Regions from separate parts of the Homo sapiens genome. Here all the other regions are linked to region 2. The links are contacts of gene promoters, found by promoter capture Hi-C in blood cells and fetal thymus (Javierre and others, 2016). All regions are on one chromosome and are shown on one strand. The core of a region is centred on a gene start or on the middle of the fragment in contact, and the rest is flanking DNA. Distances in the headings are between cores, read along the strand shown.

Evidence for each region. The method cuts DNA at HindIII sites, captures the fragments that hold promoters and counts their contacts. A CHiCAGO score of 5 or more calls a contact.
Region 1: a fragment that was not itself captured here is called in contact with the fragment with the promoter of UBE3A in region 2 in 9 of 17 cell types (total CD4 T cells, naive CD8 T cells, naive CD4 T cells and 6 more); the score reaches 9.2 in total CD4 T cells.
Region 3: a fragment that was not itself captured here is called in contact with the fragment with the promoter of UBE3A in region 2 in 7 of 17 cell types (naive CD8 T cells, total CD4 T cells, activated CD4 T cells and 4 more); the score reaches 9.0 in naive CD8 T cells.

Annotation. Positions count from the first base shown.
Region 1 is chr15:26,091,628-26,096,163 of GRCh38, forward strand. All of the region lies in intron 5 of LOC105370739 (a long non-coding RNA gene), which reads right to left. Among named protein-coding and RNA genes, the nearest start is that of TRE-TTC2-2, 12 kb to the left of the region's middle. The HindIII fragment of the contact is 969 bases long and covers 2,636-3,604 here.
Region 2 is chr15:25,437,269-25,441,974 of GRCh38, forward strand. UBE3A (ubiquitin protein ligase E3A) reads right to left here and starts at 1,756. Exons shown (of 13, transcript NM_130839.5): 1 at 1,221-1,756. RefSeq lists enhancers at 872-1,817, 1,818-2,763 and silencers at 901-1,320, 1,681-2,020. The HindIII fragment of the contact is 4,364 bases long and covers 443-4,706 here.
Region 3 is chr15:26,069,633-26,074,319 of GRCh38, forward strand. No RefSeq gene overlaps it. Among named protein-coding and RNA genes, the nearest start is that of TRE-TTC2-2, 10 kb to the right of the region's middle. The HindIII fragment of the contact is 6,546 bases long and covers 1-4,687 here.

The DNA of each region.
Region 1 (4,536 bases), core at 1,870-4,369, 660 kb after region 2:
GAAAGGACTGTTACCATGTTTGTTTTAAATTATAAACTATAAACAAAGTTTCTCCCAAAGATAGTTCAGCCTACACCCAGGAATGAACAAAGACAGCTTGGAGATTAGAAGCAAGATGGAGTCGGTTAGGTCAGATCTCTTTCACTATCTCAGTGACAATTTAGCAATGGCGGTTTCACCTATAAAATATGTTAACGGTTTGAAACACTTGATATTATGAAATAGAATTCTAGGTCACCATAAATCATTCATTTAGTCAAAATACTAACTCGAAACTTTTAAAAAGGCAAAAATCTTCACTTATTGATAGAAGGAAGACTTAGCTTTCCAAACCATCTGTCTCTTGTTTTTCCCTTCTTTATTCAGTAGTTTATTCAAAAGGCAAAGTAAAATCTTTCGTTATTGTTTACATGAAACAATTCGTTTTTACGAATTGTTTACATGAAACAATTGTTTATATGAAACAATTTCGTTATTGTTACATGAAAATCTTGTTGAAGAGAAAAAGCCAAGTTTCACCCTTGAATTAGGATACTATTAATGTCAACCCCAATCTTTAATAAAACCTTATAGACAAATCTATTTAATCTTAATCAGTTTGATCATAAGGTGAGATTCTCATAAACCCTTTATAACCCTTTACAAATTTTTGTTAAAGAGCAGATCAGTGCTCTAAGAAAACCCTGTTGAGCTTTTATTCCAATATGTAACTTATGGAAAAACTGAATAAAACCCCTTTAACTTTACTCAGTAAGTTCACACACAGAGTTACTTTTACAAGATTAACTTTTCACAAACCTTCCACAACTTGCTTAAACCTTCAGCTTTATCCTTATCTAACCTAAAACAATTCTTTAACCCTTTAATCTAGGCAAAAATATCCACATTCCCATGACTTCTTATGATCTTTTACTAAAAACACATTTCACTTTCTTTATACCCCCTGCATGTAAAACTGTTCCTTCAGTAGTCTCAATTATATGTTACAATGTTAACACTCAGCAACTTTTTTTTTTTTTTTTAATTATTTTTTTGGAGATGGAGTCTTGCTCTGTTACCCAGACTGGAGTGCAGTCACATGATCTTGGCTCACTGCAACCTCCACCTCCCAGGTTCAAGTGGTTCTCCTGCCTCAGCCTTTCGAGCAGCTGGGATTACAGGCACTCACACCACTCCTGGCTAAGTTTTGTATTTTTAGTAGAGACGGGGTTTCTCTGTGTTGGCCAGGCTGGTCTCAAACTCCTGACCTCAGGTGATCTGCCAGCCTCAGCCTCCCAAAGTGCTGGGATTATAGGCGTGAGCCACCGCACCCAGCCTCACTTAGCAAGTTTTATTTTTGGTGAAAAACCTGGTAAGTGAGCGATTCTGATTATGTACCAAGTCTGGAACCTAGAACACCAGACAGAAGTGCAGATAAAGTCTGACTCTTTCCAGCATAGCCAGGGGCATGGGTAACTCCACTTGTCCCCAGGCCTTATTTAGAATCTAATAGCTCTGAAGCAGTTCAGTCGAACACTTTTCAAAAGTCAAAGCAGTTTATGACCTTAAAGTATTTAGTAAACCTAATATCTGACTTGCCTAATTTAGACCAAATGTCTTTATTTTACCAATAACCTTTATAGCTGTTTCTATTTCCCAAAGATTACTGAAGTCATGTGAACTAAAAAGCATTACATTTTTTACTTTTCTGACAAAATATTTGATTTAAGCACTTATTATTTTTAAGCCAATTAATCAGAGCTCTTTCATATATAAACATCACATGTGCAATAATATAAATACACAGAAAGACAGAAGAAGATCCAGCAGTTGTAAGATTTTTCATTTGCCAGTTTTAAAGTTTCTTAATTGGATTACTGGCTTCATGGTGGAGTCCTTGGAGGAACAGGGCTAGGAAAACACGCAGTTATTTTTTAGGGTCTAATAAACAGGCACAGCTGGAAGGCAAAACAGATCCCCCAAAATACAGGGTTCTATTATCATACTGACTCCTGGATCCCCAAAAGAGAAATGCTGTGGAACAAGACAGTGCAATCATTTTCCTGTGCATTTGATTGCAAAGTAACCCAAAGCTGATCAGTCCATTCTGTGATCAGCCCATCCCCCAGGGGAGTCTTATCTCTCAGCCGGGGTGGGGGCATTTCCATACTTTCTAGCTGGCCGTGAGCATGCTTTTCTGATCCAAATGTGCAAAAAGCTGTGTGTCCCCCATAGTTACCATTAGCCATCCCTAAAATTATATTTAGCCATAGATTTTGAGAGGGATCTATCTACTTTCAATTCCTGGGGTTTCACGAGGAAAACAGGTTTTTCCCAAAGCAGGATCTATGGCACCTCCTCCATTTTCCCCAAGGAGTCCCAAGCTGTTAGAAGAAGTTCTCTTAGATCCTCTCTTGTGTGCATCAAGAGTGGCAAGACAAAATGGAGAAAAGCTATTCAGCCAACTGAGAAGGAAAAAAACCTTTTTTCTCCAGAAAAGAAGATTCAAGAAGAGAAAAAATCATAAAGACCCTTTAAATATATGCGTGGCTTAGATATCTGCTTTTAATTAAGCTGACTTTTAACCATAGCGCTTTTTAAAATTTCTTATTACCCTACTTTAGCCAGGCCAAATGGTGAATATTTCTGGCTTTTAAGCTTTATCAAAACTAACCTCACAGGCAAAACCAGTAAGCCTCAATTAAGGTTCTGACTTAACCACGACTGTATGAGGTATTTTCAAAGAGGTGGTTAGCAGTTTTTAAAAAATCTAGACTCTCCAAAGGTGGATCAGAGAAAGGAAGATTCTACAAGGGAAGCTAGAAATTGTCCATGGAGGGGAAGAAGATCAACAAATGGCCAAAGTTACACAGACATCAAACCAGAAAGGACTCATTCTCTTGGGCCAGAATTGAATCCTGAACCTGGGCCACCACTGTGAAAGGACAAGGTCCTAAGCCTGCGTTCTATCCTAAGGTTCCCCTCTTCATGACAGAATGACACAGAAAGACAAATTCATAGCACAAGGTATACCAGATTCGCTACAGCTTAAGACTGGCCTCACGAATACTTTTGCCCGTTAATTAAAACTTTGCAAGAGAGAGTGATTTTTAACCATTCTAACAACTGGTTTGCAGAGAGACAGAGAAAGACAGAAGAATTGCCTGCAGCAGGGTGGGGAAGGTGAGGAACTCAGGGAACCCAGAGAAAGACCCACCCATTGCAGTGATACTGAATCAGAAGTTCAGGCGGCCACTCGTCGGTCATGAAGGGATCTTTTCCAGCAGTCCCATCAGCTCTCAAGTTTTCCCCTTTGGGAAGGAAAAAGCTCCCCATGTCCAGTGAGCCTGTACATGCCTAATCCTGTCCCCCACAGCCATCAGGAAAAAGTAGAAGGCAGATTAATCCCAATAAAATAGCAGTTAACATCCCATAGTATCAAATCCATTTTTAACCGAGAGGGACTTTACTGAAGGGAGAGCCTCTAACCCATTCCTATCTTTTACCCCGGTAAAATGTACCCCACTACTTTCCCAGAGTCAGCCAGTTGGTGCTACAGCCTATTTCCTTTGGCTCGAGATCACAACTAAGCCAAAAGTTAGCAGATTTAATTTTTTTTAATCAAAGCTTTTATTTGACTTAAGCTTTTTATTTGACTTTCATAAAGTCTTTAAATAAAAATACTGAAATCCATTTAGAAGCTTCTGCCTATCAATAGGCATCTCTAGATGAGACTAATTTGGGAGCCCTCATTTTCAAACGCACTTCAGTGCAGTGTTGTTCATTTGGAACATTCCACTATAAGTTATGTTTAGTAAGATTTCACCATTTCTGTCAGACTTTGTGGCTTCTGGGGCCTAATACTTATGCATGTATAAGCCAGAAGGAACTCAGTTCTTCAGAAATTAAGGATCCCATTTTCACCTAAAATATTGGCTTTCTCTCAGGTACCCTTTATCAGCTTTGCCAATGATTTTTCCTATCTAAGCACTCAAGAAAAATGACACAAAGGAGTAGAACACAAAAATCCCTGCGAATTCCAAAAAGCCAAATTTACACTCCCTGCAATATTGCCATTTACCACCATTTGTTTTTCTGCCCCAGTCAGATGTAAGAGGCCTCTAAGTCAGTTAATTACTGCATCCAACCCAATTACGCACGCAGTGCAGTTTCTGTCACGACTTCCAAACCAAGTTTACATCAGAAATTTGCTCAAAGAAACTCGGAGAGCTCAAAATACAAATCCATGGAGCTTTGGAATCTGAGCGAGATCTTACCACCGCCCCCTGCTGCCCTGAGAGAGCAACGGGCACAAGGAGCCCGGCGGGTCCCTCGCTTGGTCACTCAGTGCTCACGGGGGTCGCTAGAAGCTCTACCTCGATCTGTTCTGACGCCATCTGATAAAAGAAAAACTTCAGCCAAATTAAAGTTTAATTGAGCAATGAATGATTCGCGAATCGAGCAGCCTCCTGAGTCGGAGTAGACTCAGAGACTCCAGCGCAGCCACGTAGTAGAAGATGATTTATGGACAGAAAAAGGAGAGTAACATAAGGAAAA
Region 2 (4,706 bases), core at 506-3,005:
CTAAATTCTAAATTTTACATGATTTACCAAATCACTTCTTAAGTAAGAGTACTTATTGATCAGAAGTGTGAGACAAACACCTTATCCCACTTGTCCAATTTATTCAACAAGATTGATTGGGTACCTTTGTGTCTCTGACAGGTAACTTTCAACAGTTGTATTTCTTAAACTTTAGGTCGTCTCCCAAAAAAAACTGTAATAATTTGCTGCTTCTCTCAATATTGCAGGCAGTAAAATGATCCAAAATTACGGGTCATATCCACATTTCTTCATGATTGAGGTTAACTGTGCACTGTAAACCCCATATGCTATTAGTTTACATTTTCAACAGCACCCTCGCCACTTAATAATCTCAAACAGATTTTGGACTGTTACTAATTTAGCATATCCATAAAAAGTCATTTAAAAAATGTAGACGCTAAATTCTCTTTCAAGGTTGCCAAGCTTCACCAGTGTCTGTATTAAAATTATTTCTAAAATTTTACGGACTAAGGCATTTGGTACATTCAATTCTACCTTTACCAACAAAAGCCTTTACCACCAAGATGAGGAAAGCATCCTTTTCATTTTCTACACTGAAAAGGGGGGGGAAAAAAGGCCAACTGCTTGCATACAGGTCTGCATATAACACAGCAGTCTCTGGCAAAGCCAATAACTCACGTTCAACTTCAGAAATCCTGGTGGCCGGTAACACAGAGTAACCTGTGCGCACAACCCTTGGGCTTGACATACCACTTCATCCGCCCTCCCTTCCCATCAATCCACCCCCAAAACCCCAACCCACCAAGCACACGGCTAAATATGTCTTCCCCAAGAGAGCCAAAAACCTTGAAAACGCCGAGAAAGGGCTCCCCTTTGAAGGAAAGGGCCTGCCCTTCCCTGTCTGGGGCCCCGGCTGGCTCGAAGAGCCTGGCTCCTAGGAGGCCCAAATCTCGACGCCTCGCACGTCCCGCCCCGCCCCGGGCCCGCTCGCGTCCCCTCGGGCGACAAAACCCTCCCGCCGTCGCTCAGCCAGGACTGACAGTTACGGCTGCAGCAGCCGCGGCCACCAGGGGCCTACTTCTGGCACCAGCCCCTTCGGACCACGCGCCCCCAAACACTCGCCTCGGCGGCGGGGGGCGGGGAAGGGGGGTGTCGACCTCGCCACAGCGGGCCCCGAAGGCCGGCCGAGTGACGGAGGGGAGCCAGCGCCGCCTGGCGCAGGCCGCGGCAACACTGACCTGTCGTCGCCCCCGCGCCTGGGCTGCGGCGGCCGCCTCACTGGTCGTAGTCGCCCTCGCCCGCCGCCTCCGCCCGCCACCGCCTCGTTCTCTTTCGCTGCCGCCACCGCCGGGGCTCATGCGGGACCCGCGCTTCCTTATCCGGAAAACGAGGCCGGGAAAGGGAGCGCCGGGGCCGCCGAAATCCCGGCGTTCGTCGCCAGCCGCCGCTGCCTGTCCACACCGGGGGGCTGAGGGGCCCTCCTGCCAGGGGCTACAGGCCGCGAGCTATTCCGAGGAGGAGCCGAAGGAGGCGCCGCCGCCCGCAGCCGAGCGCGCCGGGTCGGCAGAGGTGAAGCGTAAGTAGGCGGCGGATGGCGGGCGCCCGCGCTGGCGGATGGCTACGCGGCGGAGGGGTGCGCGAGCGAGCGAAGCCTGGTGTGTCGGGTCCTGGCGAAGGGAAAAGGCCCCGTCGTCTCCTGTAGTCACCCCGAGCCCAGCGCCACCATCTTGGGAGACACACGGATCTCGCGGCCGCGGCGCAAGACGGGAGGACTGGCTGGGCGGGCCGAGTATCCCGGCAGGCAGCGCGCGCCGCCCGGCCGGGCGAGGGCTCCAGGCCGGGACGCGGGGACGTGGGGCGGGGCCAAGACGCGCGGGAGGGCGCCGCGCTCCGCCCCTCCTTCCTTCGCCGGCCCCGCCTCCCTCCCGCTTGCCGTCGCCGCCGGCGCACGGGCCATTGGGAAGAGGAGGTGGCCTGCGGCCCCTCGGAGTCCCACCAGGCTCGGTCGCCATCTTGCGACTGGACAGAAAGGGTAATCCCTCTTTTTAGTTTCTGCTGTCTGTGACCCGAAAGAATAAACCTGGGACTTCCGGAAGCCCTCTGGGCACCCCCCCCCCCAGGAGGGTTGCAGAGCCCCTTGGTGTACCCAGCAGAGGAACGCCTCAGACTTTGTTGGGAAACGAATGGCTCTGAAAGTTAGCTGAAGCCGCTGGAATAGCCCCCCAGCCCCGAGGCGGGGCAGGTGCCTGCCGTTATTGGCTTTTCGACCCCAACCCTTTTCTATCTGGAGCTGCCTTTGTAGATGTTGCAGGGGTGCCCCGAGAGTGCAGGCCAGATTTTAGAGGACCAAGGTCATCTACTTAGGCCTCTTGCCAACACAGGATGTGTCAACTAGTTTACCAGAGACGAAGGTAAAGTCCCGTCTCCTGCAGTTGTTGACGTTCAGTAGGTCGTCGGTTAAGAAAAGTGGCTCCCTGGTTGACCCCAGCTGGATAGAGGCTAATTTTGATCCATATGACAGCTGAACGTAGTTAAAGCCATTAAAATTAAATCCATTTAAAGTCATATTTGGTACCAGGGTCACCATTTTAAAAGGTGTGTGTGTGTATGTGTGTGTGTGTGTGTGTGTGTGTGTATAGCTTTACAACACTTGCTAGCAAAGCCAAAAGAGTATCACTAACAATTCATAGTGTTACAACTTGCAACTTTGTTGATAAGCCCTTGAAGTACTAGATGAGTACCCATGTCTAGTATTCAGATTTTTTATATCAACAGTCGTACATAGCAGTGTATCTTTTTTAAATTTATTTTTATTTTTAAACTTAGAAATGGTGTCTTGCTATGTTAGGCCCAGGCTGGTCTCGAGCTCCTGGCCTCAAGTGATCCTCCCACCTCGGCCTCCCAAAGTTTTGGGACTACAGGCATGAGCCACAGTGCTCGGCCAGCAGTGTAATTTTTAACTGTCAGTCTCGGAACATCTTTTTTGTATAGCCAAGTGTGTGGGTGTGTGTGTGTATCCGCCTCACAACTATAACCAACCATTGAAAAACCAACAATAAGCTAGAAGAATTTAAGTTATTCCAGGACAACTGATGATAATGATAGTATTAAGCCATATTCGATTTTAAGATGTTTTAACTCAGCTCTTTACTCACTTTTCATTTCCTCTCATTACACATCCACATTTGGAAACTATTTGCTGTTATATTTCATGGAAAGGACTAGTAAGAATTATAATCTTTAAAAAAATTTATCTTCGCAAGTTTTCAAAATAGGCAACAAAGAATGTAAATCTTTAAGGACTTTATTGTTGGACTAATTAAAGCATACCATTTCTACTATATCTAGCATATGGAGATACTTATAGGTATTCTTCCTTTTAAGTAGAAATTGACAATAAATTAAGTGTAATTTTATAATGGCCTGGTGTATCAAAGTGTGGCGGAAATCCCTGAGTTCCAAAAAGATTAAAGACCGAAGGGAAATAAGTCTGCTTTTAGCTAGATGTCAGAATGACTATTCATTGCTTTACTGAGATCAAGGAGGATCTTAATTCCTCCTGGAGAAATTACGTATATCCGTTTTAGTTCATTAATTTTAAATCTGTATTCTTATGTGTGACATTAGTATTAGAATTCTTTCAAGATTTCACTGTGCTTTTTGTTTTATCCATTTTCAAATTTAGAAATGTTTGCTCATCAAACTTACCAACATAAATACTTTCAGGAATCCTTAAGATACTAGCAGTGTTCCACTTCCCTATACACCTGTTTATATGAAAAATAAAAAAATTCTCCCATATCAGACCCATGTGTTTTTTTTTTTTTAGGTGTGTTTTTCCCAGAAAAACAACTTTGTATCTACTAAGTGAACAGTGATTTCTTCAGACTTTTCTAGTCCAAATGAGACCCAGTAGTTTCTAATAATTTTCTCATTTCAGGTATACAGTAAAAAGAGCAATTTAATTTTATAAGCATCTGCATCAATGCCTTGAGCAAACTTTGAGCTAATGTTTACCCAGAACTATTTATGTGTCATATGTTGGACTACTTGAACTACTATTTATGTGCCAGACCTTGGGAAACAATAAAAGATGAACAATCTCTATCCCTGCCCTCAAGAACTTGCAGTTCCAGAGGAAGTCACACCTGTAAGATTGGACACTTTTTCAGAGTAACCCAACACTTCATTGAGCATGGGGGGTACCTAGTAATATGTATCTGCTAATACTAACAAACTTTTTATTTTATTATTATTATTATTTTTTTGAGACAGAGTCTTGCTCCGTCGCCCATGCTGGAGTGCAGTGGCGCAATCTTGGCTCATTGCAAGCTCCACCTCCCAGGTTCATGCCATTCTCCTGCCTCAGCCTCCCAAGTAGCTGGGACTACAGGCACCCGCCACCACGCCTGGCTAATTTTTTGTATTTTTAGTAGAGACGGGGTTTCACCGTGTTAGCCAGGATGGGCTCGATCTCCTGACCTCGTGATCCGCCCGCCTCGGCCTCCCAAAGTGCTGGGATTACAGGCATGATCCACCATGCCCAGCCAACAAACTTTTTTTTAAAGGAAACATTTTGCCCTAAATTGCTGGTGAAGTTGTTTTTTGACAGAGCTGTTTTATTGCTGAAGATTTCTTATTGATGCCAGTCATAACAGATGAATCAAAATGCAAGAACAACTTTTTTTACTACTCAGCATGCCCCAGGATCAGAAATAAGTCGA
Region 3 (4,687 bases), core at 971-3,470, 630 kb after region 2:
AGGCTTTGCTCTCAGCACACGTTGGAGTTGGCTCTTGGTGGGTGGGTAGCAAGAACTGAGCGCCCCAGAAGAAGCCTGGGCAGGGTCAGCGAGCCCCACAACCCCAGAGAGGCAAAGAAGCCAGCTCGAAGCTGAGTATTGCTTGTTATGCATACCTGGATTTCCCTTGAATCTGCAGTTGTTTTGCTTGTCTGCTATTTTATAGGATACTAATTGCATCCTAGGGCTACGAACTTCTAATGAGCCAGTACCTAGGAGACTAAACCTGGACTTGCTTCTTCTTAGAGAGTATTTTTTAAACAGTGAATTTTAATATACAGATGTAGAATAATAATTTTTCATTTAACATGTAATATTCCTTTGTGGATTAACCTGTCATTAGGCCTGATTATTCCACCACATTATAAGCTCTGTTAAAAGGAGGAAAAAAACAGCTTGTCTTCTTGATGGTACCAAAAAAATGAAATAAAATAAACTAACTGAGTATAAGTGATGCTATATATAAAAGCTGCTATGGGTTACCATGGCAACCAAAGTTCTAAAAATGACAGAAAGAAAAGAACATCAGGTTGTTGTGACAAATGACACTCGAAGTGACAGTTTTCTTGTGGTGCTTGCTTTTAATTAATGCAGCTCTGTAAGGAACGTTATTATTGAATAATAGATTAATGTGGTAAATCAGGAGGCTGGCTTGCAGATTTGTTTTTCCCACACTGGGATAACTGATCAGAGAATGCAGAGAGTGATGGGAGAGTGAAACTCACTGGGAGAGGAGATGACGGATGGCGGCTATCCAGAACCACATGACGAATGTCGGTGCCACATGCTTTCGGGGAGCATAGAAACAGCTGTCTCCAGCAGCCGTGATCAAAGCAAGGCTAAAAAATACAGCAGTCACCACAAAGGAAGGCTGTCATGTAACATCAAAAATACCACTGGCTTAAAAAATCTTAATACATCGTTTTTATTGCTGGTGGGTTTTGTTAAGTGTTTTAATGTCTGCTATGTAGGATGAATATATATATTATATATATATATATATATTTTTTTTTTTTTTCCTTTGGTAACCTATTTATTTCAGCAGGAGATTCTCTGGTTCTTAACACCTCATGTCAGGAGGCCCAGTAGCCCCCCTACCCAGGTATGTACAGATATGAAAACGCGCTGGCAATGTCTAGAGGAGACAGCAGACAATTACTTTTGATATGCATGGAAAAGAAGAGACACAGACTCTTTCTATAGTTGTGGAAATTCGGACAATATAAGGAGATGACATGTCCACCGCACAGGAAGCTGAGGTGAAGACCCAGGCCTCCCAAGGCCCTGCATTCACACCATCCACTCCAGGCCTGGCTTCTATGGGCTTCCATGCGCTGGCTTTGGGTGCTTCAATCCCCCACCTCCGGGATGGGTTAGGTGTGCTCCTATGTGATACCATCGCCCCACGCTTCTGTCTTTGTACACACTCGCCATGTCCTATGTTAATGGTTAATAGCTCATCTCGCCTTTTAGACTGTGAGCTCCTGGAGGCAAAGAAAATATCTTTTCTCTTAACTCATTTCATGGCACATAAAAGGGGCTCACTACATTTTTGTAAATGAAGGAATGAATAAACGAAGCAAAATCTGCCTATCTAGGTGATTTTAGCTGAGTTTCACTGAATTATAATTATGTCAGTTAATTCATCCATCACTCATCAACACTTTAGGGACTGGCCTTGTGTCGATGACTGGGTAGGTGTGGGTAACACAAAGACAGTAAGATCTAGTAACCGCTTCCAAAGTTTTGACATCTAGAGGTCAGCATGAGCAATCAGTACCACAAGACGTCAGGGGAAACACGCTATAACAGAGGTATATGTACGGTAGAATATGGGAGGATAGAGAACTCTCAGAATTGGGGGCTTTGGGACAATTTTCCAGGAGAAAATGAAATGTGAATGGGAGCTTAAGAAGCAAGTGTTAACTAGGCAGAAAAGAGAGGAGATTGTTTTAGAGCAAAGAGTCACAAACCAGAACAGGATATCGTTGAATCTGAGACATGAAGCATGGCTATAAAGCAGGTGTGTGCAGAGAAGCAGGACAAGCAGGGGCTGGGGAGCTGTAAGCATGTAGTTCATGGGGCCATGTGCCTCCCAGGAGGGCTTGACTCTGCAGCTAATGGGAAACCTCTAGTTCTTCCATGCGTGTATTTCAGACTCTGAAATTAACACATGCTTACTATGAACATTTAGAAAATATAAGTAGTAGAAACAGAGGAAGAAACATGAATTGTCTCACACCAGGAATAGTGTTAACACACTCTAATACAGTTTTTTTCACAGCAGCATAGCTATTCTTACAGGGCTCCTACTTTCCTCTTTTCATGCAATCAGGATATGTTGCTGAACTGGTATCTGTGTAGACAATACTCAGGAGTAGTGCCCACAAGGGAAGCTCACCTGAGCCTCAGTGTCCACAGTTTCTATGGGAGCTTGAAGTAGGCATGATCGATTATTCATTGCCCATATGGCTAATTTCAGTCTCCAAATAGATTAATATTGTTTGACCAAAAGCTCTCACCCTAAGCCACATTGTTGTTCTTTCTAGGATGGCCAGCCCTACGTTGAGTATTATGGATGTGGTCAGTGCCTGCCCTAAATCACATTGCTAGGCTATCCAGTATGATCCAAGGACCCCAGGAAAACAGACACAATCTTATCAGGCATCATATTCCAGGGATCCAGAGATTGCCTCTCAGAAGCTGGGGGACAAAGATCAGAACTTTTCTTTGGGCAGGGCTAAATTTTTCACTACACATGGGCACTAGCTGTGCTCACTGGTACTAGGGTGCTAATGTTCTCAAGCTCTCTCAGGGGACAGAGCTAGGGAACAAATGTATGTACATACACATGTACATCTTTATTAATTTCTCTGTCTATCATCTATCAGTCTATATCATCTATTATCTATCATCTATTATTTATCTCTCTATCATTAGACTATCTCTCTATCATCTATCCATCATCTTTTTATTTATCCATATTAAAAACCAGGAGTTCACACCAATACTTCCAATACCAATCCAAATCCACAGTGTTCTTTATAGTTTTTCCCTTTCTCATATTTGTAACTCTCTTCTCTAAGAGTAAGAAACCTATTTCCCATTATCCTTATATATGTACTGATTTGTTCAATCCTCCACTATTGATCAGTCTTCCATCTCTGCCACCATTTTCTCCCTCCCAGGCATAACTGCCTTCCTAATGCTGCTTGATCTCTATGCTCCAGGCTTGGCCACTCCTCCAAGAGGAAACTCCCTTCACCAAACCCCATGATGGCCCACCCTCTACGTGGATACCATTCTCACATTCCCACCCCACTCTTGCCCTGACACCTCATAAGATGAAGAGCTATACACTAATTTGTTAGCATAGCCTTTTCTGAGTCTAGAAAATGATACTTGTTCATTGAACAGCATTCAGAAATACAGACAAGTATAGAGAAGAACTGGAAAGTCATCCGTAACTGCTGTTCAGAGATTTTCATTAACATTTTTTGTTTTACATTTTGTTCTCTCCCTAAGAACATTTAAAAATAGTTGATAACATAATCTGTACAATGTTTACAACAAAATCAGACAAATTCAGACTTGTTCAAGATAGCAATAGATAAAATGAGGGCAAGTGCTAAAACAGAATAATATTAAATGCTGATAGATTATGAAAACATTGGAAGATCCAGGCAAGTGTACCTGAAAATACCACCAGTCACTTTGATCATGCCCCCTCCAGAGGGTGATGTCTCCCTCTCGTGCAGTCCTGCCCTGCTGTTGAGAGACGGCTGCTCCATTGTAGGTCATGTGTCTTTAATTTAAATGGAAGTGGTGGCTGAGGGAAGGAGGCACAGAGAGGTGGAGAGGAGAGAAGACAGGGGGCAGAGGAGAGCCAATCACCCTGTGACTGTCATCTCAATACCTGCTGGAGGGGTACAGACTCCATCTCTGGTGGCATCACCCAGCCTGTTGATCATGCTTGGAGGATGCTTGGAGTGTAGTCATCAGAGATAAAAGCGCATGCTGGAAAGAGTCATAGTTTCTGGCCATGATGTTTCTGTTTAAGGAGTCTTCGTAGACACAGCAGTGGAAAATCAGAGAGGATGCGTCAGGGGCTGCCACATGACCCCCTTCCAACCCAAATTCTCCCTGAATGTTGAAGACATCCAGAAGGCTGACGACTGTGTAGGTGGGATGTTTTGGAAGCAGAACTGAGGCCATGATAGTGAGAAAGAGGAGGAGGAAATTGCAGGGAGCCCTTTAGAAGATCCACTCAGGGGAACACCATGATTGATAACATACTAAATATGAGTAAAAATGAAGACAACTGATTCTTTTAGGTTTTCCTACGTGGGTGTGGGTGAAATACAAAATGAATGTATGCATTATTAATATTTTAACTTTTCTTTCCTCTAATAACTACACTTTGCAAAAACATCCTGGAGAGTAAGAATTGGGTCATTTCTTTGGGCTGTTCACATACTGATAGTGCTGAACAATTAGAATACAGTCATTCCATGCTTCTTGGATGAGCTCTTGGTCTTACCTACAATAAGCATTACTGTGAACATTTAGCTCCATTGTAATTGATAATCATCTCTGGGTATATTAAACTGAGAGAACAGAACATGTTCACTGAGATTCTCACCATCTA